7 separate regions of the Homo sapiens genome follow, and all the other regions are linked to region 1. Evidence: promoter capture Hi-C in 16 types of primary human blood cells and fetal thymus (Javierre and others, 2016). All regions are on one chromosome and are shown on one strand. The core of a region is centred on a gene start or on the middle of the fragment in contact, and the rest is flanking DNA. Distances in the headings are between cores, read along the strand shown. Region 1 holds the start of USP37 (ubiquitin specific peptidase 37). Region 2 holds the start of CHPF (chondroitin polymerizing factor). Region 3 overlaps TUBA4B (tubulin alpha 4b). Region 4 holds the start of ABCB6 (ATP binding cassette subfamily B member 6 (LAN blood group)). Region 5 overlaps GLB1L (galactosidase beta 1 like). Region 6 overlaps DNPEP (aspartyl aminopeptidase). Region 7 holds the start of NHEJ1 (non-homologous end joining factor 1).

Evidence for each region. The method cuts DNA at HindIII sites, captures the fragments that hold promoters and counts their contacts. A CHiCAGO score of 5 or more calls a contact.
Region 2: a fragment that was not itself captured here is called in contact with the fragment with the promoter of USP37 in region 1 in 1 of 17 cell types (total CD8 T cells); the score reaches 5.4 in total CD8 T cells.
Region 3: a fragment that was not itself captured here is called in contact with the fragment with the promoter of USP37 in region 1 in 3 of 17 cell types (activated CD4 T cells, naive B cells and fetal thymus); the score reaches 7.7 in activated CD4 T cells.
Region 4: a contact is called between the fragment with the promoter of ABCB6 here and the fragment with the promoter of USP37 in region 1, in 7 of 17 cell types (neutrophils, activated CD4 T cells, total B cells and 4 more). The highest score is 6.5, in neutrophils.
Region 5: a contact is called between a fragment that was not itself captured here and the fragment with the promoter of USP37 in region 1, in 3 of 17 cell types (fetal thymus, total CD4 T cells and naive B cells). The highest score is 7.0, in fetal thymus.
Region 6: a fragment that was not itself captured here is called in contact with the fragment with the promoter of USP37 in region 1 in 7 of 17 cell types (naive CD8 T cells, total B cells, non-activated CD4 T cells and 4 more); the score reaches 8.4 in naive CD8 T cells.
Region 7: a contact is called between a fragment that was not itself captured here and the fragment with the promoter of USP37 in region 1, in 2 of 17 cell types (total B cells and naive CD8 T cells). The highest score is 6.6, in total B cells.

Annotation. Positions count from the first base shown.
Region 1 is chr2:218,567,001-218,570,335 of GRCh38, forward strand. USP37 (ubiquitin specific peptidase 37) reads right to left here and starts at 1,351. Exons shown (of 26, transcript NM_020935.3): 1 at 1,178-1,351. It overlaps CNOT9 (CCR4-NOT transcription complex subunit 9), which reads left to right and starts at 1,839. Exons shown (of 8, transcript NM_005444.3): 1 at 1,839-1,978. The coding sequence starts at 1,955. RefSeq lists enhancers at 1,194-1,821, 1,822-2,449, 2,244-2,433 and silencers at 1,314-1,383, 1,474-1,533. The HindIII fragment of the contact is 2,574 bases long and covers 103-2,676 here.
Region 2 is chr2:219,540,288-219,543,858 of GRCh38, forward strand. It overlaps CHPF (chondroitin polymerizing factor), which reads right to left and starts at 3,522. Exons shown (of 4, transcript NM_024536.6): 1 at 2,938-3,522; 2 at 1,329-1,902; 3 at 659-838; 4 at 1-355. The coding sequence starts at 3,251. It also overlaps a transcript of TMEM198 not described here. RefSeq lists silencers at 2,954-3,043, 3,054-3,571. The HindIII fragment of the contact is 1,213 bases long and covers 710-1,922 here.
Region 3 is chr2:219,259,587-219,263,123 of GRCh38, forward strand. The region is part of intron 1 of TUBA4B (tubulin alpha 4b); the gene reads left to right. Among named protein-coding and RNA genes, the nearest start is that of TUBA4A, 7.4 kb to the left of the region's middle. The HindIII fragment of the contact is 2,500 bases long and covers 652-3,151 here.
Region 4 is chr2:219,217,249-219,220,802 of GRCh38, forward strand. ABCB6 (ATP binding cassette subfamily B member 6 (LAN blood group)) reads right to left here and starts at 1,710. Exons shown (of 19, transcript NM_005689.4): 1 at 877-1,710; 2 at 422-559. The coding sequence starts at 1,425. ATG9A (autophagy related 9A) reads right to left here. Exons shown (of 16, transcript NM_001077198.3): 15 at 3,499-3,554; 16 at 2,132-3,204. The coding sequence ends at 3,199. RefSeq lists an enhancer at 927-1,794 and a silencer at 1,040-1,149. The HindIII fragment of the contact is 13,414 bases long and covers 1-3,554 here.
Region 5 is chr2:219,238,735-219,242,317 of GRCh38, forward strand. GLB1L (galactosidase beta 1 like) reads right to left here. Exons shown (of 17, transcript NM_001286423.2): 6 at 1,457-1,551; 7 at 1,186-1,360; 8 at 1,041-1,099; 9 at 827-948; 10 at 677-717; 11 at 358-476; 12 at 1-45. Among named protein-coding and RNA genes, the nearest start is that of GLB1L, 4.9 kb to the right of the region's middle. The HindIII fragment of the contact is 3,209 bases long and covers 386-3,583 here.
Region 6 is chr2:219,381,896-219,385,248 of GRCh38, forward strand. It overlaps DNPEP (aspartyl aminopeptidase), which reads right to left. Exons shown (of 15, transcript NM_012100.4): 9 at 2,471-2,548; 10 at 1,236-1,319; 11 at 84-244. Among named protein-coding and RNA genes, the nearest start is that of DNPEP, 4.3 kb to the right of the region's middle. The HindIII fragment of the contact is 7,826 bases long and covers 1-3,353 here.
Region 7 is chr2:219,157,481-219,161,169 of GRCh38, forward strand. NHEJ1 (non-homologous end joining factor 1) reads right to left here and starts at 3,335. Exons shown (of 8, transcript NM_024782.3): 1 at 3,240-3,335; 2 at 706-882; 3 at 1-204. The coding sequence starts at 882. RefSeq lists a silencer at 3,000-3,119. The HindIII fragment of the contact is 2,637 bases long and covers 1-2,569 here.

The DNA.
Region 1 (3,335 bases), core at 101-2,600:
GATGTCAAGCAGACAGCTGGCTATCTAGATGTGGAGCTGAAAACAAAGGGAATAGGCTGGAAATAACAATTTTTAAGTCATCAATATATAGATCAAATTTAAAGCTTAGGGAGGAATATAAGAGTAAAAGAAGAGGACCTAGGACTGAACCCAAATACTCATTTTACTTCATCAAACATCTTTAAGACAAGTGAGTACTTTTATATCACTGGGTTTTTCAGTCCTCCTTCCATTTTACCTTTCAGCAGAATGCAACACTACTGATGACTTTTTTCATGGCTTGCAAGACGCATCCTCCTCTATTGGTTATTAAACAGCAGGAATTCGTCAATGCTCCATCCTAGGTGCCTTTATTTTACAGCACTATACTCTTTTTCGGCAATTTCATCCACATCCATGGCTTCAATTACTATCAATATGGCAGATGACAAACACATACACACACCGCGCACATTTACGTACGCAGCCCAGAACTCTCCTAAGATCTCCAAACCCACTATATCCAACTGCCTACTTGACATTCCCTCTCAGGTATCTCTTCCAGTTAGACACTTGTCAGGAATTGCCACCTCAATAAAGGAATTTATACAGAGCTGAAATTTTGAGAGGAATACCCCAAAACCACTTTAGGACAACTCTTCAGGACACAGGATTTTATCATCAATCATCATTTCCTTTCATGGATCATGACTTAAAATAGTTACATCTAACAACCTGATCTGGCGGCTAGAAATGGGCGCAAGGAAATGCACAACAAAAATACAATTCATGTTTTGCAGTGAGGACTGGTCAAGAGGAAGGTGAAGATGGTCAAGAGAGTGAATGAGTATCATGTCCAAGGCCTGGTGGATGTGCCGTAACGAAAGTCACCTGAAGAGACAGCAGGCCCTGTTAGAAGGTAAGAGGCGAACGACAACAGCCCCAGAGAAAAGGGGCCAGGTTTGAGTTTCGGAGGGAGCGAGTGGCAGTGGAGACCAAGTCAAAGGAGAGGTGGAAGCCGGGGCAGTGCACCCAAAGGTAGTACCTGTGAGGCTGGGGGTGCATCGAGGGGTTGTGGGCGGGCTGAGTAGCAGCAGGGCGAACTCCAGAGGAGTGAACGCCGAGTGGGCGGATCGCACAGAAGGAGGAGGAGGTAGGGAAAACGGCTCAATTGAGAAGCTACCCCGGCCCGCCTTACCTGCGCCGAGGGTCCGGAGCCCCCGGACAGACCCGCGGAAAGCACGGAGCCCGCGAGGAGTGGGAGGAGCCGAGGGTAATGGAAGTAGGGATACCGAACCCAAAGGAGGGAGGCCGCTAGCTACCCCTAGTCAGGGAGAGCGGCTGATGGCGGGAACTGTGACCACACGCAAACACGCACGCACGCACGCACACTCGACGCGACCAGACAGGCGCGTGCGCGTCAGTCGAAAACTCCGCCCCTCACACGCCCTCGCCCCGCCCCGCCAGTACCTAGAGCGGCCTAGCCCGGGCAGCCCCGCCCCTGCCGTGACTGTAGTAGGCACGCGCACTTTCCACCTCACCCGATTTCGACGCCCCCCCACCATTTCCCTCCTACGCAACCCAGTCGGGCATGCGCAATAGTTGTCTTGCCGGGACTGTCCATCTTTTCCCGCCGTTCACTGGCTTTTGGAGGAGGGTCAGAGTTCACGCCGCTCTCTGGAAATAACTGCTCAAAGCCAGAAGTTGCGGGGACTAGTGGTCGCGGACGTCCTTCCGGTCCTAAATCTTAAGGGGCAAAGGACATACTCTGGGACTGTTAACTAGGCCCTGGAGGCGGGAAGAGGATGTGTGGGTGGGGTCAGGGGTGAGAGGTCAGAGGGCCGCGAAGTGGGCGGAGCGAGCCGGAGTCGGATGGCGGCTACGGCGGCTCATTGTTTTCCGCTGCAGGGGTGCTGAAGGGGGGACGCGGGTCGGACGCGTCCGGCTGTGGAAGAGAGCGGCGGCCGCTCACAACATGCACAGCCTGGCGACGGCTGCGGTGAGTGGCTGGGCCCCCAGGCTTGGAACCAGAATCCTTTCTCAGACCCACGTTTCGGCCTTCTCTCCTAATTCCCGGTGTCGGGTCCCTAGTCTGATTTTTTTCTGCCCTCAATCTCCAAGGCCCCGGTTCCCCTCCTCGGCACGCTTTGGTTGTGGTGGAGCCGGCCCCTATTTCCTTGCCGGACGCCTCTCGCGGCCTTCAGCGCGACCCATCGCGTTCTTTGCGGGCGCCGGGGCCTGGTCCCACGCCCGTAGCAGGCCATTCATTGATTTATTGCGCTGACCAACAGTTTCAGGGCGCCAGTTGTGTTCTGGGCGCCGGCGTCGATGAGGGGAATTCCATGGTCAATCTGACGCGGCCCCTGCTCTTAGAACTCACCACGTCGCAGCGGGAAGGAAATGGCTTCTAGTTCAAACCACTTGCTTTATTTATGGAAAACCTGAGGCCCGGAAAAGTGCATAATTTTTGCATCTGACTTAGGTTCTCTGCATTTAAAACTTTTCCTCGACACATCTCGTTTTACCCGCGTGATCTTTTAACAAAAAAGAAAGATAGTGTAATTCAGCTATCCGAAGTAATCCTACTTCTCTTGGCATTTAAATAAAATCTAGACTCCTTGCCATAGCCTGCACGGCCCTGTATGATGTGGTACTTAACCCACGTTTATAATCTCGTTTTATGTCTCTTGCTCCTAAAGCTTCAGCTACTCTGGCCACCTAACCCTCTGCAACGCGCTTATTTTTCTCCAAGATGCACTTTGTGGTCTCTATGCCTGGAGTGAATGTTCTTCTTATCCCTCCTCCTTTACATACACAGCATGAGTGTAATTGGTACCTCTTCCTTGAACTCTCCTTCCTCTCCTTAAACTGTTTATCCAAATCCATCTTTCTTCAGGTCTCTGCCTAAATCGGTCTCAGAGTGGCCTTCCCTGACTATCCTCTTCAAATTAGTTCCGCAGCCTCTAACTTTAGTAGAGTACCCTTTACAGCCCTGATCCCCGTGTAATTATTGTATTCGTTTATTTGTTGTCTGTCTCCTTGAGGGCAGGGACAGGGATCATGTGAGCCCTGTTGACGTGGTTTCCCCGGTGCCAGGACAGTTCCTAGTACAAGATTAAAGACTCAGATACTTTGCTGCATGAAAGAATATTGAAGGGAAGGTGACCACTGAAAGAACATTGCCATGATGGGGAAAGGAGATCATTTGATTTGAGCATACCTGCCTGAAGACCAATTCTGCTTTTTCTGTTTAACCAAAGGGAAATGATTTAAGGAAAGTAATGTACTGAAATTGTATTATCAGGCAAAATGACGTAATTACTAAATAAAGCACCAAAAATTGCCATACGTTTAAG
Region 2 (3,571 bases), core at 66-2,565, 970 kb after region 1:
GGGGGGTCAGTGCCTCCAGCTGCAAGTCCAGCGTGTATTCCATACCCCGGGCCGGATCAAAGCGTCGGTAGCCATTCACCAGCTGCTGCTTCTGGAGCCGCAAGGCCGGGTGGTAGCGGCGGTTCAGCTCCTCTAGAGCTGTCCCCAGAACATCGGCCACATCAGCCCGGTCAGCCCCACGCAGTGGGCAGCGGGGTGAGCCATCGGCGCAGGAGAAAGCGTGCTGCTCCGTGAAGTAGTCCCAGCGCAGCACCTCAAAGCGGGAGGCCGGGCGGGATGGTGCTGGAATACCCACGGGCCAAGCAGCTGCCTGGTCCCCATCAACGGCCAGATGGCTGGTATTCTGGATCTCCCACTGGATCAGAGAAACAGGCCATCAGCAAGGGACAGATTACAGGGAGCAGCACACAGCTGGGGGACTGGGTAGGCAGTAGGTGCCACTCAGGATGGGCCCCTCATCCCCTGCCAACCTCTGCCCATACCTATCATTTCCCCAGCATAGACAGCCAAGAGGCTCATCAGAGAATGTAGAAACAGGCAGGGGCTGGGAAGTAGTTTTGTTCTGTGATTCTAGTGCTAACTTGTCATTTCTCTGGGCTCTCTGTGACTTCTCAGATCCTGTCCCCGTCACTCTGCCACCCCCAGACCTAGACCATACCTGTAACTCCTGGATCTCCTGGTACGTGCGTTCCAGTTCAGCTCGGGCGAAAGCTTTGTGCAGCTGGTACATGTGCACAGGGTCACGCACAGGGTGGGCTGTCAGGGCACTTCGGAAATGAGGGTCCCCCTCCTGCACTGGCTCCCCAGGGCTCAGCTCCAGATGGCTATAGTGCACCCCCTGGGGAGAGGAAGGGAAGGGATCTGTGATGAGCTGGCATTGTCTTCCGTTGTCTCATAGTAAGTGTCTCATCTCCTCAGCCTATGACCTGTTGTGGACTTGCAGTCTGAGGGTTTAAGTCTACCTTGACCAGTTGTGAGTCTGTGTGACCTTCAGCATGCCTCCGCTAGCTCATCTGCGAAATGGGCATGCGTCCTGTCTCAGAGCTGTCCAAGGGCTAAAATAATAACTAACATCAAATGCCTATTATGTACAAGGCTCCCTGATTTTTTCTAATCCTTGTAACAACCCCGAGCAATAATTATTTCCATTGGCACAAAGGAAGATACTGAAGCCCAGGATATTTAGTAATTTACTGGGGGTCACAGAGATAGAAAATAAATGTCCGAATTGGCATGGAAAAGCAGACCTGTATCTCCAACATCCCTTTGCCTCTCAGAGGGATTTGAACATGACAAGGAGGTATCAGTGGGATAGCTTATCATCCCACCTCGTGGTCACCAGTGCAGCCCACCCCGGTGGCATCGAGAATGCAGCGACCCAGCCACTCGTCAGGGCGCGCACTGACGATGTCGTTGCGGCAGCCTTCCAGGTGGGGGCGCAGTTGTTGCAGCAGCATGCGCGACAGCAGCACCCCAAAGCCTCCGTGGCAGTAGCGGCCGGGGGTGGGCTCTCCGCCGATGAAGTCCTGGGGCCGGCCCAGGTACAGGTGGGCGGCGGAGGCCAGGCTGAGGTGGCCAGTTAGGCGTGCCAGGCCGTGCGCCTCGGTGTAGGTGGTGTCAGGCACCAGGAAGAACCAGTCAAAGTCGTCGCCGTGCTGCTCCAGCAGGTGGCGCAGCGCCAGGTGCAGGTGTCCAATGGGTCGCTCCTCGCCTAGCGTCACCACTGCCATGCCAGGTGGGGCCCGGCGGCCCCGTGCGCCCGTCAGGAACACCACACGCTCCAGCCGGTGCCCCAGCGTGCGGTTCACGGCCACGCCCAGCGTGGGCAGCGTGGTCTGAGAGGTCAGCACCGCCACCAGCAGCCTCTGCCTGATGCCCAGCTCCGTGCTGATGTAGCGGGTCCTAGGGGAGGAGATGGCACAAGCTTATCAAAAGGACAACGGGGCGGGGGGTGGGGGGGAGGTGGTCAGCACAGACCCTGGCAGGTCACGTCTTCTCTGTATCTGTTCTCTCACCTATGAATAGGTTAAAAATAAACCCTCTCTCCCAGGGGTCATGAGGATTTAAACGAAATGGTCTTAAACAGGTAGTGCTTTGCATTTGGGAGATGGCAATACCCACCCAGATAGGAGAGAGATATTGTGGGTCTGACTCCGGGGTTCGCTACTTAGTAGTTATGTCCTTGAGCATGTTATTTAACCTGAGCCATCTGTAAAATGGGACTGATTATATCTGTTTAAAGCACCCAGCCAAACGCTGGACACACCATGTATCTACTCATTTCTATATAAATATGCCATTATGCCACAAATGCCTCACATAAATGACATAAAGGAACGTTTGGCATAGGGGTGTACTGAGTGTTTTTGCGGGGAGGGGCAAACTGCACTCAGGGGCTCTAGGAACTTACCTTTTGGTAAGGCAGAAGGTAAATTGCAGAACCAGCATTTGAACCCAATGTTACTTAGAAGTTATTTCAACTCATCAGCAGAGACATTAATGAGATAGGTACATTCCTCCCTCCCCCATCTCACCCTGAGGTGGCCCTTGTAACCCACTCAGGAACAAGAGATCCAGGTAAATCCTAGTTCTCTCCTTTCTCTTCCCCTGTCTCTATACACTCACCCTATATATAAGTCATTTCTCTAACACCAGCAGCCCAGCCAGGGAGCTAGTAGGATCTCTGGGGCGCCATCGGGTCGAGCCGGTTTAGGACACAGTCCAGTAAGTTCAGCCCAGGCCGGGATAGGGCCCAGAGAAAGTCTCGGACTGGCCCCACGGCTCTCGGGAAGGCAGGGCCATCGGAAGTTATCGGGGCCCAAAGACTTCCTGGCTCGCCAGCCCCTTCCTTCCGGAGCCTGACCCGGGCCCGGGCGACCTCCCCGCGCGCTTCCCGGCCGCTGCCCAGGGGGTAGAGCGGGCGCAGCCGATCACTACCTGACGGCCTTTTTGGCGGCCTGGCCGGGCTGTGCAGGGTGGTAGGGCAAGACGCGCGGCTCCCAATTCTCCCCGGCGCCTTCGCCGGCCCCGGGCTTCTCGCGCTCCGCTCCGGGCTGCACCGAGTTGGGCCGGCGCGCCGCGTTGGTGTTGCCGCGCGGCGGCAGCTCAGAGTCTCCAGGTTGGGGCGGGCCTGGGCCGCACGGCTCCTCCACCCAGGTGACGCTGAGCAGGCTCAGGGTGAAGCCCAGGGAGATGCCCACGGCCACGGGCCCTGCGGGCCGCAGCACCGACAGCAGCAGCGATGCCCGCATGGCGCCCGGACCGCGGGTCCCCGGCCCCGGCGAACCCCCAGAGCAGCCAGAGGAGTCTCCGAGGGGGCGGGACCGGGGAGGGGGCGGATCCGGAGGGCTCGGGCCCCGCGGGCGGGCCCGCTCCCTCCCCGCAGAGCAGAGCCAGCGGCCCGAGCCGAATCCCCGGAGCCGCGCCTCGATTCCCCTCCAGCAGCTGCTCTGGGCTGCGCAGGGTTCTTGCGCTCGGCACTGGAGCCTCAGCCGCGGCCGCAGCTGTCCGACGTGTCACTGCAAGGGCCCCGCCCCCGGGGTGGGGTCTCGGGCTCTCGCTACCGGAGAGG
Region 3 (3,537 bases), core at 652-3,151, 690 kb after region 1:
AATTAACTTTTCAGTCCATCTACCTATATGTGTACTCTCCCTCTGGGTCTCTCTCCCTCTTCTCCTTTCCCATTATCATCTCCATCTTTTCTGACCCCTTCCCAGGGTCTCACCTTTATCTTGGAGCAGGGCAGCAAGGTACTCAAAGTTTAAAATGTTTGCACTGACTCCATCTGGGAGAGATAGAGCCACAGCCTTAGTGATGTGCATCCTTCAGTTTTTCCAGACTAGAGCATCTCCCAGCCATCCTCCTTCTCACAGCACTGCCTTTACAAATGGGGTAGCCCTACTCATCACATATCCATGAATTCACCCCTCAATACTCTCCCTGCAGACTTGACTCACATGCTCCGCTGAGATGCTTTTGCCAAGGTCTCTAGTGGCCTGCCTCTTGCCAAATCCAAAGGCCACACATCTCCATCTTCATCTTTCTTAGCCGCTCACAGCAGCATTTCTCATGGTCGATTCTTCTTTCCTTCTTGAAATTCTTTTTTGTTGGTTTTGATGACAGCACCGGCTTCTAGCTTTTGTCCTGGCCCCTCCTTCTTGGTGGCCTCTGATAGCTTAATTTTAAATGATGTTCCCCATAGCCCAGTCTCAGGTTCTCTTATTTCCTTCATTTATTTTTCTCCCTGAAGGAGCAATTGTTGAAGCTTGGTGATGAATATATGAGGTTTTATTATATTATCTCTATTTTTAGGTATATTTTTAATAATATTCATCATAAAAAGTTATTGTAACATTTTTGGAATTATTTAAAGAGAATTATTAAAAAATAATTTTGGAATTATTTTAAAACTAGAGTATATACATTCCCATACAATAGTGAAGGAATAGGATAAAAAGAAATGAATGTCATATATATGCTGACGACTCAAATTTATATCTCCATTTCTGACCTCTCCTCTGAACTTCAGATTCATATGACTAATTGCTTTCTTGACATCTCCACTTGAAAGCCCATGAGACATCTCAAACATAACACAGTCACCATGGAACTGTTTTCTACCCTCACCCCACTCCCTGCCAAACCTGCTTCTGTTCTAGGCTTCCCAGTCTGAGTGATCATCTTCCTTCCAAGTGCTTGAGTTAAAATCTTAGGATTGGCCGGGCACGGTGGCTCACGCCTGTAATCCCAGCACTTTGGAAGGCCAAGGTGGCGGATCACCTGAGGTCAGGAGTTTGAGACCAGCCTGACCAACATGGTGAAACGCCGTCTCTACTAAAAATACAAAAATTAGCTGGGCTTGGTGGCGGGCACCTGTAATCCCAGCTGCTCGGGAGGCTGAGGCAGAAGAATCATTTGAAGGAGGCGAAGGTTGCAGTGAGCCAAGATCGCACCATCGCACTCCAGCCTGGGGGACAAGAGCGAGACTTCATCTAAAAAAATAAATAAATAAATAAATAAATAAAATCTTTATTTTAGGATCACTTTCCTCTCTCTCTCTCTCTCTCCTCTCCCTCTTTTAAGTTAGAATTTTTTGGCTGCAAATAATGGAAAACCTAACTTATCAATGGCTTGAACAATGAGGGCATGTATTATCCCACAAGAAATCTGAGTATAGGGTCTTTCCAGGGTTGATTCAGTCATGTCACCAATAACTCCAGTGTTTCTAGCTTTCTGCGCTGTCATCCTCAAAGAGCGGGTGACATCTTCCCTCAGGAACACAAGATACAGCAGCTCTAAGTATCATGTCCTTATATGACTCTGTCTTAAGGCAGGAAATGGGGGGCTTCCTCCCACATCTGTTTTTATCAGGAGAAAAACCTTTCCTTGAAGCGCCCTAGCAGACTTCCCCCTTCTATCTCACTAGCTTTTGCCTAAACCAGTCACTGGAGGGAGGGAGTTAAATGGCCATGGATGGTTTGGACTAACCTGTACACACCCCTAGGTCTGGGGGAAAGCTGTCTTCCTCAAGCAAGTGCAAGGGTGAATACTCAAATAAAATCAGGACCTTGCTAGTGAAGAATTGGGCAGGGGCAGGCAAGGCTGTTGAGAAGCTCTGCCACCACCTACACTAGTATGTCCTTCACTTTACTGCCAACCCAGCTACTTCTCACCACCCCCTACTACCATCCCGTTATTCCTAGATGCCTTCAGCAGCCTCTGAACCAGCTTCCTGCCTCTAGGCTTGAAACCCTAATGCAGTCTCCACACAGCAGCTGCAGTCATCTCTCTGAAACACAAGCTAGGCAATGACGCTTGTTTCAAACCCTCCTGTTACACTTATATAAAAGCCATTCTCCTTCCAAGGCCCCTCCACCTCTATGATCTCATCTTGTAGAGCTCTCTCCTTTCCTCACTCTGGGTTTTTGGACACACTGGGCTAGTTCCTACCTATGATTGTTTGCACTTATTATTCTGTCTGTCTGGAGAACTGGTTTCCAGATCTTGCCTCGCTGACTCCTCACCATTCAGCCCTCAGTTCAAGTGTCACCTTCTGGCCGGGTGTAGTGGCTCACGCCTGTAATCCCAGCACTTTGTGAGGCCGAGGCGGGCGGATCATGAGGTCAGGAGATCGAGACCATCCTGGTTAACATGGTGAAACCCCATCTCTACTAAAAATACAAAAAATTAGCCTGGCGTGGTGGTGGGCGCCTGTAGTCCCAGCAACTCGGGAGGCTGAAGCAGGAGAATGGCGTGAACCCAGGAGGCAGAGCTTGCAGTGAGCTGAGATCGTGCCACTGCACTCCATCCAGCCTGGGCGACAGAGCGAGACTCGAGACTCTGTCTCAAAAACAAAACAAAACAAAACAAAACAAATATCACCTTCTTATAGAGTGGCTTCTGTTCAGTCTAAAATAGCAGCCCCTGCATATCTTTCTGTTCCATTATCCAGCCTTGTTTTCTTCACATGCTTATTGCTATCTGGAATGTTCTTGTTTGTTTATTGTCTGTCTTCCCCATGAAAATGAAAGCTCCATTTTATTTCTTTTTGAGACAGGGTCTTACTGTGTCACCCAGGCTGGAGTGCAAGTGGCATGATCACGGCTCACTGCAACCTTGACCTCCTGCGCTCAAGTGAGCCTCCCTCCTCAGCCTCCCAAGTAGCTGGGGCCACAGGCATGTGCCACCACACCCAGCTAATTAAAAAAAAATTTTTTTTTTTGTGGAGGCAGAGTCGCATTATGTTGCCCAGGCTAGAATGTAAGCTTCTTAAGAGCATAAACTTGCCAGGCACAGTGGCTCACACATGTAATCCCAGAACTTTGGGAGGCCAAGGTGGGCAGATCACCTGAGGTCAGGAGTTCGAGACCAGCCTGACCAACATGATGAAACCCCGTCTCTACTAAAAATACAAAAATTAGCCAGGCATGGTGGCATGCGCCTGTAATCCCAGCTACCTGGGAGGCTGAGACAGGAGAATTGCTTGAACCCGGGAGGCGGAGGTCGCAGTGAGCCGAGATAGCACCACTGCACCCCAGCCTGGGCAACAAGAGCAAAACTCCATTCCCCACCCCCCAAAAAAGCATAAACTTTTGTGTTTATCACTGTATCCCTGGCACCTGAAATGGTGCTTGGCATACAGCAAGCAC
Region 4 (3,554 bases), core at 460-2,959, 650 kb after region 1:
GCTGAGGCACGAGAATTGTTTGAACCCAGGAGGCAGAGGGTGCAGTGAGCTGAGATCGCGCCACTACACTCCAGCCTGGGTGACGGAGCAAGATTCCGTCTTAAAAACAAAAAGAGGCCAGGCGCAGTGGCTCACGCCTGTAATCCTAGCACTTTGGGAGGCTGAGGCAGGCGGATCACGAGGTCAAGAGATCGAGACCATCCTGGCCAATGCTGTGAAACCCTGTCTCTACTAAAAATACAAAACTTAGCTGGGTGTGGTGTCATGCACCTGTAGTCCCAGCTACTCAGGAGGCTGAGGCAGGAGAATCGCTTGAACCCGGGAGGTGGAGGTTGCAGTGAGCTGAGATCACGCCACTGCACTCCAGCCTGGTGACAGAGCAAGACTCCGTCTCCAAAAAAAAAAAGAAACTGAGGTGTACCTGGCTCCTTTCCACATCTTGGTCCTCTTCATGAACCTGCAATGTATAGGACTGGGGACGAAGTCCAGGGGCCCAGAGACCCAGGACAAACAGCCCTCCAGAGACCACATACCGCAGCACCCACAGGCTAAACTGAACCTAGAATGAAATATAAGTGGAGAGAGTATCATTGAGGATAAAATTTCATTGTATTACTACTTATAATAGGGCCGGGGACTGGTGTCATGAACACATTCAGCACTTACAGGCTTAAAAAAAAAAAAAAAAGCAAAACCACAGTGACTCAGCAAAGACACACCCCACCAGCTGGCTATCAGCTCCCGGCAGGACTCAGCCCCTCCCTTCTCCCTTTGCTTAGAGGCATCCTAAAGCCTGGAAGCAGTGTGACTGGACATGCAGTGCTTTCTCCCAAGCCCGGCCAGCAGAGGCTTCCCCCTTCCCACAGAGTCCCTCACCTGCTGGCCCAAGTCTGCCCTTGCCCACCACCACTGTGGGCTGTTCCAAGACACCAGGGCCAAGTTCTCAGCTGCAAACGCCACAGTCCAGAGGAGCAGGAGACCAGGGCTGTGCCTGAACTTGATCCAGATGCCCATTGCCAGACGCTGCCGTGCCTGGCTCCGCTCCACGACAAGCAGCCACAGGCCACAGGCGCCGGCCAGACTCTCCAGCACGGAGGCCAGAAGTAGATAGCTTGGCAGTGGGGCCCCCCGGGCAGTGCCCACCCGGCCAGCCAGGCCGGCCAGGGGCAGCGCCGCCTGAAGTGTGGCCAGAAGCAGCTGCAGCACGTAGGGAGAGATGCGAGGGCCGGCCCCCCAAGACAGCGAATCAGCACCAGCGGGCCGCTCCCGGCGTCTGCAGGGAAGAGCCAGCACCAAGGCCAGAGTCCCCAGAGCCATCCGCGTCGAGGGCACGAGCGTGAAGAAGAAGCAGGGACTCAGGCCATCCTGCATCCAGGCCGGACCCACGGGCCCTTCGGCCTCGCAGTAGTTGCCCACAGTCACCATGGCAATGCGTGGACGCCGGCCGAGGCTGCGGGCACTGCGGGACCGGAGGCCGGGACTGGTCACTCGGAGAGGGGCGCGGACATCCGGGTGCCTTGGCTCACGTAGCCGCTGGGCGCCAAGCTGCGGGGGTCCCGGGAAGGGACGCACGTGGACCAGGCCTCACCGCCCACTCCCCTAGCGCACGCGCCGCCGCCACGCACTCACGCAGGGCACGTACGCCGTCTCAGCACGGCCCCGCTGGCTCTGGGCCCGGGACCCTCCTGCCAACTGCAGGCCCACGGGAATGCTCGGTGTTGGACTCGCACCGCGCTCCACGGCTGTAGCCCCGCCCACAGCCCCTACCCACGGCTCCCATTGGCCAAATGTCTCCGAGGGGGGAGCGGGGGGAATGGTGCAGGCAACGAATGCAAATTAGAGAAGCAGAGCCGGCTTGGTCACGTGCCCAGGGCGGGAAATCTGACGACCAGGCCGAGCTGGAAACCTCCACGGAATCGTGGCTCGGGGCTGGAAACAGACCTCACGGAATCCTGGCTCGGGGCAGGACACAGACCTCCACGGAACTGTGGGTCGGAAGCTGCCCTTCCGCCAGCCGCCTTGCTCAGCGTATCTGAGCGACGGCCTAAACATACTTTCTTCTAGACCCCGGCAGAGTCCCCATCCCATTTCTCTTGTTCCCAGGATTCTAGCCGCGCGAGACAACAAGAAGTCTGGTCAAACTCCCTTTTTATTAAGGGTTATCAAGCTGTACACGGTCCCTACCCTGCTCCGCTCCGAGTTCGGGCAGCGCAATTCACCACTCTCCCAAAGCCGGACCACAGCTGGGTGAGGGGTGGGACAGAGAGTAGGAGCAGTCCCAGCATGCAGTGCAGCAGCCCAAAGCCTCGGGCGAGGCATCGCCCTTCATCCCCCTTCAGGGCACAGCGAGATGCGGGCCAGAGCTCTTTTGCTGGGACGCACACAGCCAAGGTCACCCTCCAGCCCGGTCTGTCCCATGTGCAGGTGATGGGGGGTACGATAAGCAGCAATGAGGGCCCAGGAAGACCTCAGTCTCCTGGGGGCCCATCCTAAAAGATGGCAAGGGCAGCAAAGTATTTCCATCCTGCTCCTACAATTTAGAAACCTTCTTTTTTAGTGTCAAAATATAGCGTTGAGGGGAGCTGGACGCTAGGGTCTTCACCCTAACGCAAAGCAAAAGCCGAACGGAACGGGAGCAAGCGAACAGAACAGGAGCAAGCAGCACACACAGGCCAGTGATGTGCAAGAAGCGGAGAGAGGTGAGCCGGCTGCAGCACTGGGCGAGAACTGCGGGTGAGGTAAGGGCCACAGCCTGACCTGCTCATCTATTGAGGGGGCTAGGGAAGGTTGCAGGGGTTGAGGGTCCAGGCCCAACCTCCCCACTCCACAGTTGGCACAGGTTCTCCCTGCTTGGCAGCTTCTATCGTGGGCAGCCCTCTGGGGACTTGCAGGGGTAGGTGTAAAGGTGGCAGTACTGGGGCTGGGCTGGGGGCCAGTTTCTAGCACCACACTCTGAGCCAAGGGGGTCCTGGGGATGAGGCTAGAGTCCCGTGTGCCCTCGGTTCCTAGGCCCCAAATTCCTCTCCTGGGGCTGTGGCAAGCCCAGTGTTGGCACCTCCCTTGGCCAGGCACAGACACACAAACACCACACACGTGGGGCCAGGGAACACTCAGAGGAGCCGTCCCATGGCAGGCAGACGGGATGGCAGGGCAGCGGTGGCCTCCATCCTGGGCCACAGGAACCCTGCTCAGCCTTGTCTATACCTGTGGGGAGAAAGGGTTGGTAATGGAGATAGTCTTCAGCTTCTGGTTGATACCTGCTAGCCCCATAGAAACCTAGAGGTAAAGGGACAGGAAAGGTTGATTCCTGGGGAGGTAAGGTAAGGAAAAACCAAGCCCTGCAGAGCAGTTGAGAAAAGAAGGGGTAGTGTGTTTTGGAAGGGAGGGTACAGTATCTCTGTGTGGGGGTGGGGCATATCTTCCTTCCCCTGAAAAGCTGTTACCTCACCCTGGAAGTTACTATTTCTGGCAGTTTTTCCTAGGCCCCGGGGCCCTTACCTTGTGCACCTGAGGGGGTAGCTCATCCTCCGAGCCCTCTTCGGGCACGGGCTCAG
Region 5 (3,583 bases), core at 740-3,239, 670 kb after region 1:
CTTGGGGCTCGGGGGAGGTAAAGGTCCCAAAGGAACTTCCTGGAACTGAGCCCAGATTCTCTCAGGATCCATAGGAAAACCACAGAAAACAATACCTATTCCAAGACTCTAGGGCAGAGTTCCTAACCTGGGGCCCAGGGAAGGGCTTCAGGGATCATGGAGGCTCAATAATTTTGCACACCTGTGTGTCTTCACACATAGTCCCATTTGGTTGAATGGGAAATGCCTCAGTGGGATGCTCAGAAGGCTCTGTGGCCCAGACAATAACCACCAATTTATGGGATACCTTTACAATGTGGGCACTCCCTTCCTCCAAATTAATAAAAGCCTTTGGAGCTTAATGAAATGGTAGGGTACCTTGCTGATGACATCTCGAAGAGCAAAAAGCTTAGGTGTGGGGTCCCCTGCTTCAGATATAGGTGCATCATAGTCATAGCTGGTAGTAATCGGAAGGAAGCGTCCCTTCTTATCGGCACCTGAAGTTGAGCCAATTTAATTAATTCAACATGTATTTCAGATGACAGGCACTACTAAGCATGCTTCATGCAGAGAATTTTGCCATCAGAGGGGGCAGAGGTGGCCATATTCAGCTTCTAGACATCCTAATCCACCTGGCCCTTAGATTCTAATTCCTTGTTACCTCCCTGCTTCTATCCCAGGGACCATCTGGACTCACCATTCCAATATCCAAAGTTGGTACCTCCATGGAACATGTACCTGAAGTGAGAGAGGGTGGGGGAACAGGTAAAAGCTGACTCACTGAATCTTAACTTTCATCCCCAGCTCCCAGCTACAGATTCATATTGCCCCCAGTGTCTTTACTTACATGTTCACACTGGCTCCCAACTTGAGCATGTTCTCTAGTCCTTTGGTTACAGCTGACACAGACCGTGTGGAGTGATTCTGGCCCCAGTAATCCAGCCAGCCTGTGTAGTACTCAGAGTTTACCTAGAGTGTGAAATGAAAGGAGTGTGAGTGAGATGGAACTGAGCTGGACCCATTCCTATCCCTGATTCCCTGACTCCTCTCTGGCCCCTCACCAATGGCCCATGGGGTTCATACTTCCGAAGCAGGGTAAAGATTTTGGTCATGTTGTCAGCTGCGGAAAGGAGGCAAAAGAAAAAGATAAATGTCGTGGAAGAGGTGTCCTTTCCCCAGACTCCACTCCCAGCCCTTGCTTGAGACCTGGGCCAAAATCTACAGTGGTATAGAGTCCCCGGAGGGAGCCACACTTGAGTCCTTCAGGCCCATCTGTGGTGAAGAGCAAGATCTTTTCTCCTAGCAGTGCACGGAAGAGCCCAGCCAAGTGCCTCATGTAGCTGAAGTCACAGGCTCTGTAGCTACCATATTCATTCTCCACCTGCCAGAGGGGAGGGAAAGTGGAACCCAGCTATGGGATGGAGGTCAAGGACCCCTTGTACCTTCTTCCCCTGCTCCAGTCACTTCCCCCTTGTACCTGAATGCTAATGATGTTGCCCCCATTGTGATAAAGCCATGGATATATCTTGGGCAGCAAGACCTTGAACCAGGAGTCCACTGCGGCAAGGAAGTCTAAAGGAAGGAGCAGAGCTTCTGTGTTAGGTGCTACCATCACACTTGCTCACCACTAAATATGGGAAGCAATGACTCTTGTCAAGAAATTCCCAACCCTAAGCACCTTGTATATTTGCACGCCAATGAAATTTGAACATAGGAAACCTTAAAATAGTGTTTCTTAAAAACAAATGGGCCGGGCGTGGCGGCTCACGCCTGTAATCCCAGCACTTTGGGAGGCGGAGGCAGGCAGATCACGAGGTCAAGAGATTGAGACCATCCTGGCCAACATGGTGAAACACTGTCTCTACTAAAAATACAAAAAAATTAGCTGGGCATGGTGGCGGGTGCCTGTAATCCCAGCTACTCAGGAGGCTGAGACAGGAGAATCGCTTGAACCCGGGAGGCAGAGGTTGCAGTGAGCCGAGACTGCACCACTGCACTCCAGCCTGGGCAACAAGAGCAAAACTCCATCTCAAAACAAACAAACAAAAATGGTGGTATATGGGGAGACTAAAATATAGAGGGGATGGCCGGGTGTGGTGGCTCACGCCTGTAATCCCAGCACTTTCTGAGGCCAAGGCAGGGGTGGATGACCTGAGGTCAGGAGTTTGAGACCCTCATGGCCAACATGGCAAAAACCTGTCTCTACTAAAAATACAAAAAATTAGCCGGGCAAGGTGGTAGGTGCCTGCAATCCCAATTACTCGGGAGGCTGAGGCAGGAGAATCACTTGAACCCAATCGGAGGTTGCAGTGAGCCAAGGTCACGTGACTGCACTCCAGCCTGGGCAACAGAGCAAGACTCCGTCTCAAAAAAAAATAACAATTATGCCGGGTGCGGCGGCTCACACCTGTAATCCCAGCACTTTGGGAGGCCAAGGCTGGCAGATCACGAGGTCAGGAGATCGAGACCATCCTGGCTAACACAGTGAAACCCCATCTCTACTAAAAATACAAAAAATAGCCGGGTGTGTTGGTGGGCACCTGTAGTCCCAGCTACTCAGGAGGCTGAGGCAGGAGAATGGCGTGAACCTGGGAGGTGGAGCTTGCAGTGAGCCGAGATTGCGCCACTGCACTCCAGCCTGGGTGATAGAGCGAGACTCCATCTCAAAAATAAAACAAAATAAAAATAATATATATATATGTGTGTGTGTGTGTGTGTGTGTGTGTGTGTATATATATATATATATATATATACATACATATATATGTATGTATAGAGAGAGCGAGAGAGAGACCAGGAAGGCCTCACCAAGGTGACTTCTGCAGGAGGCTTGTGATGAAGGAGCACCACATGCAAAGGCCTCAAAGCCCAAGGCCTGGTGGGTCTGAAGAACAGCAATGAGGCCACTGTGGCTGGAGCAGAGTGAACATGGGGGAGAAGAGCAATAATGTCGAGGAGGTGACTGGGGCCAATTGTGTAGGACCTACCACTTTAAGGAATTTATGGTTCATATTCTGAATGAGATGAGAACCTACTAGAGAGGTTTAAGCAGAGAAATGACAAGATCTGAGATGTATCTTTAAACTTATACTTGAACAGGATCACACTGGCTACTCTACTGAGAACAGATTGTATGGGGGAGAGGGCAAACAAGGGAAACCAGTTAGGAAGCTATAAAATAAGCCAGCTGAGAGAGATGGTTTGGACCAGGGTGGGGGCAATGGGGGTGATAAAAAGCACTTAAATTTAATGTTTGTCAAGATACAGCTGATAGGATTTTCTCTTTTTTGAGACAAAGTCTCTTCAATCTGTCACCCAGGCTGGAGTGTAGTTGTTCAATCTCGGCTCACTGCAACCTCTGACCCCCGGGCCCAAGTGATTCTCCTGCATCAGCCTCCCAAGTAGCTGGGATTACAGGTGCCCACCACCTCGCCCAGCCAATTTTTTGTATTTTTAGTAGAGATGGGATTTTGCCATGTTGGCCAGGTGGGTCTCAAACTCCTGACCTCAGGTCATGCACCCGCCTGGGCCTCTGAAAGTGCTGGGATCACAGGCATGAGCCACCGCGCCCAGCTGTTTTTTTTTTTTTTAATCAGTTTCTTCC
Region 6 (3,353 bases), core at 278-2,777, 820 kb after region 1:
TGGGGCCAAGGCAGAGCCTCAAGGCAGGTTATGCTTGGGTCTCCAGCTATGTGAAGACTGTGTGACTGGCACTAGAGACTCACAGGTAGTTGGGATGCACAGCATGGGCCATGTCTGCGCTGATCATGAAGGACTTGGGTATGGCTTCCTCGAAGGCTGTCGGGTGCTGGCACGAGGCTGAGATCCGCCGCAGCACCAGCTCTGTCAGCAGTGACTGTGCTCCCTGTGCACTCTCAGACCCCACCTGGCGACAGTAGAGTCCTGACTCTGGGAATCTGGGCTTAGGGGCCTGATCTTGGAAGCCAGTGAGAGGGGCCCATTGCCCAACTGGCCCAAAACCCCACTGAGTCACTGGGTGTTCTTAGCAACACCCCTAACCTGGGGTCGTCACTGAACACCAGACAGTGGGCTGAGACCAAACTAACTCACATTCTTAACAGTACTGGTGGGTTTCCTGCACTGCTCCCCTTCCTCCTCTCGTGACCCTCACATCTGGGGCTCAGCACAGGTGCCCCACCACACTGGTCAATTTTCTTTTATGTGTATGACAGAGACTGCTAACTGTCCATGATATCTTTTAGAACACCCAAGTTGTAGCTAAGCACTTAACTACCCAGCTAGAGATGACATTTCCAGGCTCCCCTGCAGCTAAGTTCTGTGGAATGTAAGCAGTGATGAATGTCACTTCTGGATCATGCCCTTAAAGCCAGGGGGTGTCTACTGCCCCTTTGCCCTCTCTTCCCTTCCTACTAACTCAGTGTAGACATGATGGCCAGAGCTGGAACGGCCACCCTGAATCCTGAAATGGAAGTCATGTGTTCAGGACGGCAGGGACCCCTCCTAAACTGCTAACTCTGACCTGGGTTGTTACATGAGAGAGCACTAGCTGTTCAAGCTCTGTTATGCAGCTGAGACTGCAGCCTCACACACGCAGGCATCATGAGGACCTACTCTGTGCTGAGCCCTGGGGCTACGAGGATGGGCTGGGTAGAGTCCCTGTCCTAAAGGAAGAAGCTCACCATGTGGCACAAAGAGAGATACAGGAGAGACGGTCACCCTCGAATAAGCAGATCTATGTTGAGTCAGAGGAGACACCAAGTGCTAAGGAGGCACAGGCAGCATCTCCCCTGTCTTGGGGCCCCCAGAAGAGCCCTGGCTCACGGTGGATGCCTGGCACAACAAGTTGGCTGTGGAAGACTCCGCAGAGGTGACCCTCCCCAGAACCCTCCACGTACCTCTTCGTTGTCATAGAGTGTGACCATGCGCACGTGAGGCTCTGTGGCCAGGGAGCCAGGGCCTGCACAGGAATCTATCAAGGCCTGGTTCAGGGAAGGAAATGAGAGCATCATCTCCAACCTGCTTCTGCTGGAACTCAGCCCACCAGCACCTTGGGTGTGCACGCTCCCCCATCCACCAGCACCTTGGGTGTGCACATTCCCCTGTCTGCCTTCCATGGCCATGACTTTTATCAATTAGGGCACTGCCTGGCAGAGGGTGTGGTGGGGACCTTTTTTTTCTTGCCAAATAAATAGCTACATAGGTAGAAACCTTTAAGGTGTGGTGAGGACCTTTTTTTTCTCTTTTTTTCTTTCTTTCTTTTTTTTTTTGGCCAGATCAATAGCTAGGTAGAAACCTTTTCAACTGGGACAGGAGACACCATCCTTTGGGTGTTGTTCTCTACCTTCCCATGCAAAAGGCAGTAGAAGATGTGGAGGACAGAGAGGAAGAGCTGAGAGTCCTGGAAAGCCAAAAGGCTACACACATCACATAAACTGATTGGCCTCAGGGAAAAGACTGAGGTTCAAAGAGGTGACAGACTCCATCAAGGTGACATGACTGGCTGGTTGCCTGCAGAAGTAGATGCAGGTCCCAGGTCCAGCTCTGGTCTCAATTACAGCCCAAAGCCTATCTCCAGCCACAGGATTACAGGGAAGGAAAGGCAGAAAAAGGCAGAGGGAGATCAAGGGCAAGAGGAGAGAAAGAAAGGGAACTGACTAGGGTGGAGAGAAGGTGGGGAATATCAAGGTGACTAGGAAGAGAGGCTACCTGACTGAGATCCCAAGAAACAGGGAGAAGGCTGGGGTCTTAAGCCTGGGGAGTGGCGTAGGAAGCAGAAGGAGGTGGATGATACTGCCTTGTGGATGATAAAGCCTTTCCCTGAGGCAGAGGTTGTTAACTTCAGGAAAAGCAGCAGGAGCAAGGCTAGGACAAGAGACCATGGTGCCTGAAACAACTTCTCCTCCTTCTTCTTGCCTCAACACCCTGATAGTGCAAGGGCAGAGACCAAAGGTGGCGATGCTGAGGCTGCAACATTTAGGGCCCCCTCCTGGTCCATCCAGCACCAGCAGACTGAGCGGGTAGACAATGGCCCTCTCTCACAACCTGCTGGGGCTTTAGGCAGCTCCCCCGACCCCAAACATACCACCTCTGCTGGTGGTTATGTGCTGCCTGGGGCGCCCCGGCTCCTCACCTGCAGGGCACAGAAGCAGCTGTGCAGATTGTCCAGCCGAGGAGCAAAGATGAACTCATCATAGGCACCACCCAAGACCTAGAGAGGTAAGACAGTCAGCCCGACCTTCAACCCTCCACCCCCACTCACCTTTCTTTTGCTCCCAAGGGTCTCCTTGGTTTCTTGCGCAACCTCTCCCTGACCCCTGGCTTAGGGCACTATTTTGTTTTTTCTTTTTTTTGAGATGAAGGTTCGCTCTTGTCGCCCAGTCTGAAGTGCAATGGCTCGATCTCGGCTCACTGCAACTTCCGCCTCCCGGGTTCAAAGGATTCTCGTGCCTCAGCCTCCTGAGTAGCTGGGATTACAGGCATGCACCACCAGGCCCAGCTAATTTTTGTATTTTTATTAGAGACAGGGTTTCACCATGGTGGTCAGGCTAGTCTCGAACTCCTGACCTCATGTGATTCCCCCCGCCTCAGCCTCCCAAAGTGCTGGGATTCCTTGCTAGGCAGGACCAAGCAGAGATTGGAGAAGGGGGCTGGGTTGGTGCTGAGGAACAAAAGGGTGGAGGCCAATAGCTCTTGACCTCTTCCTGTGGGTCAAGAAAAGGAAGGGCTGAATTGTCATCAAAAAGGCCAAAGAAGTAAACAGAGGAAACCAGCCAAAAAACAGAAACTTAGTACGTGTTCAAGCAGGACACAGCATCCAAAGATTTAGCAATCTCTGACCATCAGCAACCGGGAGACAGAGAACAGATGGCCACATCCAGGCCTCTTTCCCTAAGCAGTTCAGTGTCAGTGTGGGTCAAAGCAGACAGGGCCCACCTGTAGAAGAAACTCTTTGGGAATCTGTAAAAAGGGCCAATTCCCAGATAGTCCTAGTGGGCAGGTCTGGGGTAGGGAAC
Region 7 (3,689 bases), core at 1-2,500, 590 kb after region 1:
ACTAGCTAGCATGCAGTGGAAATTCCAATAGAAGGGGAGGCCAGAGAGCTCACTTCGCACCCGTAGAATCAGTGCATCTGCCACACAATCACAGGAGAAGGTAGCTTCGCTAGGGTGAGCAGCGTCCTTCAACAATGGGCGAAGGAGATTATCCAAATGACAGAGGAAAGCTGCAGGAGGAGCAGTGAGCCGCTTGTTCAGCTCCTAAAGAGAGAGCAGTGGTACAGAGTAAGGGTGCTAAAAGGAAACTAATTCCCTCATAAGTAACAGCAAAGGAAAGCCCTGGTTAACACGAAGGCAATGGACATGAGAGGAAGGGGAGAGAAGATAAAAACATCACAAGGGGAAAGAAGAAAACAAAAAGAAGAGAGTCACAAAGACCAATTGGCCTACTTCACAATTCTGCCTTGGGCAAGATTAAATCACAAAAGGCCTATCTAGATCAAATAATATATTCATTATCATGCATAGGGTAGGGAAACTAACTTTCTTTCTCTCTCTCTCTCTCTCTCACACACACACACACACACACACACACACACACACACACACACACACAAAGATTCCAGGCAGAAGTACAGGTAGAAGTACAGGACATTAACTGGAATTGTCTCAACCCGATTCAACCTTCCTTGGGAAACTACAGGCCAGCAAGCTGGTTGATGTTCACATCCCCGACACAGCAGTACTTCTCCTCATACTTACCTTGGCTCGCTGGCTGACCACACTAGTGTCCACCTGTTCATGCCACACCTGTTGAAGATCTGAAACCAACAAGGCATAGCCCTGCTTGGTGATAAAAACCTTGGCCAAGAGGGAGTTCTCTGCAAGCTGTAGCCACGCCCATGGCTGCATCAACAGGCCTTGCTCCAGTTCTTCCATCTGCAAAAAAGTCCTCATTTAGTAAAGAGCCTCAGGGTCATGCTGGCCTAGGGAGGGCACCACCCAAACCAGTCTGTATCAACTAAAATCTCATGAAAATCCTCCCTGATAAAATAGAAGGCATGGATTTACGTTCTCCCAGTATACAACCAGCTGAGCACTGACTTTACTACCTCCTGGCCACTAAAAGTATATTTAAAATCTTGAGGGTTTTTTTTTTCCCATATTACATTCCTAGAGGACAGAAAATCTTTCTTCCATAGTGTTTAAACCTCAGCATATTGCTGTTAGTATTTCTGCTTTCTAATACTATAACATAACGTGGAAACCTAAACCCTTCTTGTTCCATCTTTATCACATTCCTAATAAATATGTCACTCCTATCCTTTCCCAGAACTAGAAGAGAAGGAATAGTTCTTGTCTTATAAAACATCATAAGTCATAGTGTCAGGGCCAGGAAATTCGAAGTATTTGATCATTATCTAAAAACAAAGTTTAGGAAGCTCTCAGGATTTTTTTAAAAATCCCTAAAACAGGTTCTTAATCTAGAGTCAATGCATGTGAATCCTCTAGAATTATATGAAAATGTTATGTGTACACGCATATATGCATGGGGAGGGGGAAGAGGTCTACAGCTATCATCAAACTCTCAGGGATCGATGACACAAAAAAGAGCTAAGAACCTGTGTCCAGGAGCAACAGAAAAGACCTAAATTTCATTTCAACAAAAACCAGAATGACTAGGAAATCATGAATACAAGGCAGAGCACATCACAGAGGTAAAGACTGAATTAACTTCCACTTAACTCATCCTCCACATTCCCACTCCAGTGCACTGCCACCAATGACAACATGCCCAGCCTGGAACCCCTGCAAAACAACTTTTCTATCTCAGCAGCTAAAGTAGTAGGCTTAACCTAGTAGACAATCAGAACTACGGCTGCTTGACAGAGAATGTGATTGTTTTTCCTGTGGGGGAGAAAAAAATATGTCAATTTCCTTCATTATTCCAGTCTACAAATATAAAATGAACAGAAGTACCAGGAAGGAAAAATTTAGAATGTAAATAATGAAATTCCTTATTAAGTCTGATTAACACAGTCATTTCCCCTAGCTTTTGAAGTGTGCCCTTGTGACTTGTGACATAACTTTATATATATATGCATATATATATGCATATATATATATGCATATATATATGCATATATATATGCATATATATATGCATATATATATATGCATATATATACATATACGTGGTGATCTTTCTTTATGGCATCCTCAAAGCCTTGTGTTTGGAGGATGGTGTTTCCGTCACATTTCCCACATGCTGCTCTTATGGGGACAGAAGTGGTCATGGGATGATTAAGCTAGTCCTAGCCGGACAAGAGCTCCACAATGCCAAAGGTCACAAACGCGAATAAAGTCGCCACTTTCATCTCCCTTATAGGCACTCCCCAGTGTACTCTTAACAGTTGCCAAAATTGGGTTTACTATTCTAGCCCATTCCTTCGGAAAGCCCGGAAGCTCAGAACCCTCAAATTGATGGGTTTTGTTTGTCTGTTGGGTAAAGGGGGAGGAGTTTAAAATGTGGCCAGGAGTAACGGGCCCTATAAAAAGGCCTGACACATTGGGCACCAGACCCCGGCTGCCTGCTCCCACCACACGCGTCCCGTTCTGCGTCCGAAGCTTCTACACTTCATCCTTTTCTTTTTTCCTTCAAGGCTGCCTCTAACATTCACATTAACGAGATTCACGGGTTTATTTCTCTTGAGTGGAGGGGCGCTGAGCGGCATCCCGGCGGAGGGGTCCCTTGAGAACCTTTATCTGCACCGAGTCCGCTCCTCAGCAGTGACCCCTCTGGGCAGTTCCTCCGACGCCCTGCAGAGGGCAGTAGAGGCCCAGAGAGCATCCCGGCTGGGCCCCGCCCGGTCCCCCTGGGACAGCGCGAACCCTAGGTCCCACCACAACCATAGCCCCACCCCAGGAGCCGCCAGGCGTCCCGCTTCCACCCGCCCCAGCTATAACAGCCTTCGCTGTCCGCCTTCCCATTTCTACAGCACTGGCTGCACTGGGGCGCGGCTTCAAGGGGCAACAAAGCCGGCCACCAGCGGCTTCGTCGCACCAAACAGGCGACCAACGAGTACCTTCACTCGAGCCCTACCATCCACGCCGGGCAGCAGCCAGCGGACTGCGCACGCGCGGCCCCGCCCACCCCTCCCCCGGAGGCCTGCCCTGGACCCCGGCAGCGCGCGCTCCCTCCAGGGAGAAAAGGCCAGCGCCAGGGCCAACCCGCAGCGTCTGAGCAGCCCCTCGCTGGCTTGCTCCTGCCCGGACTCGAACGCGATTCCACCTACCGTCAGCGGCCGCGAGAGCGCCCACTCTCTTAGCCGCACGCACGCTTTCCTGCCCGCTCGCGCAAACCGAAAGGCCTAGAGTAAGAGGCCGCTTTCCCCCCACCGCAAGAGGAGGCAGGGTCTTGGGATACAGGGGCGGGGCCTATGCCTGGCGTGGGCGGGGCTTCTGGGCCTGGGACACTGATGAGAGGAGCGCCCCAGTGGCCAGGGTAAGTGGAGGAGAGGCCGGGCAGCCGGCTAGTAGAAGGGTAGTGGCGCGTCTTGGAGTCACGCTGGCCGAGTGGAAAGAATAGCGGGCGAGGCGCAGGAGAGGGGAGCCCAGGTTTGGATTTGTCAAACTTGAGTCACTTCTCTTCCCTCCCCTACCTATCCGGTCTCTTTTTAACAAAATAAGGGATTGAACTTCTGTAGATGATCTCTCAGGTCCTCCACCAGCACTAGAGTTGTTGA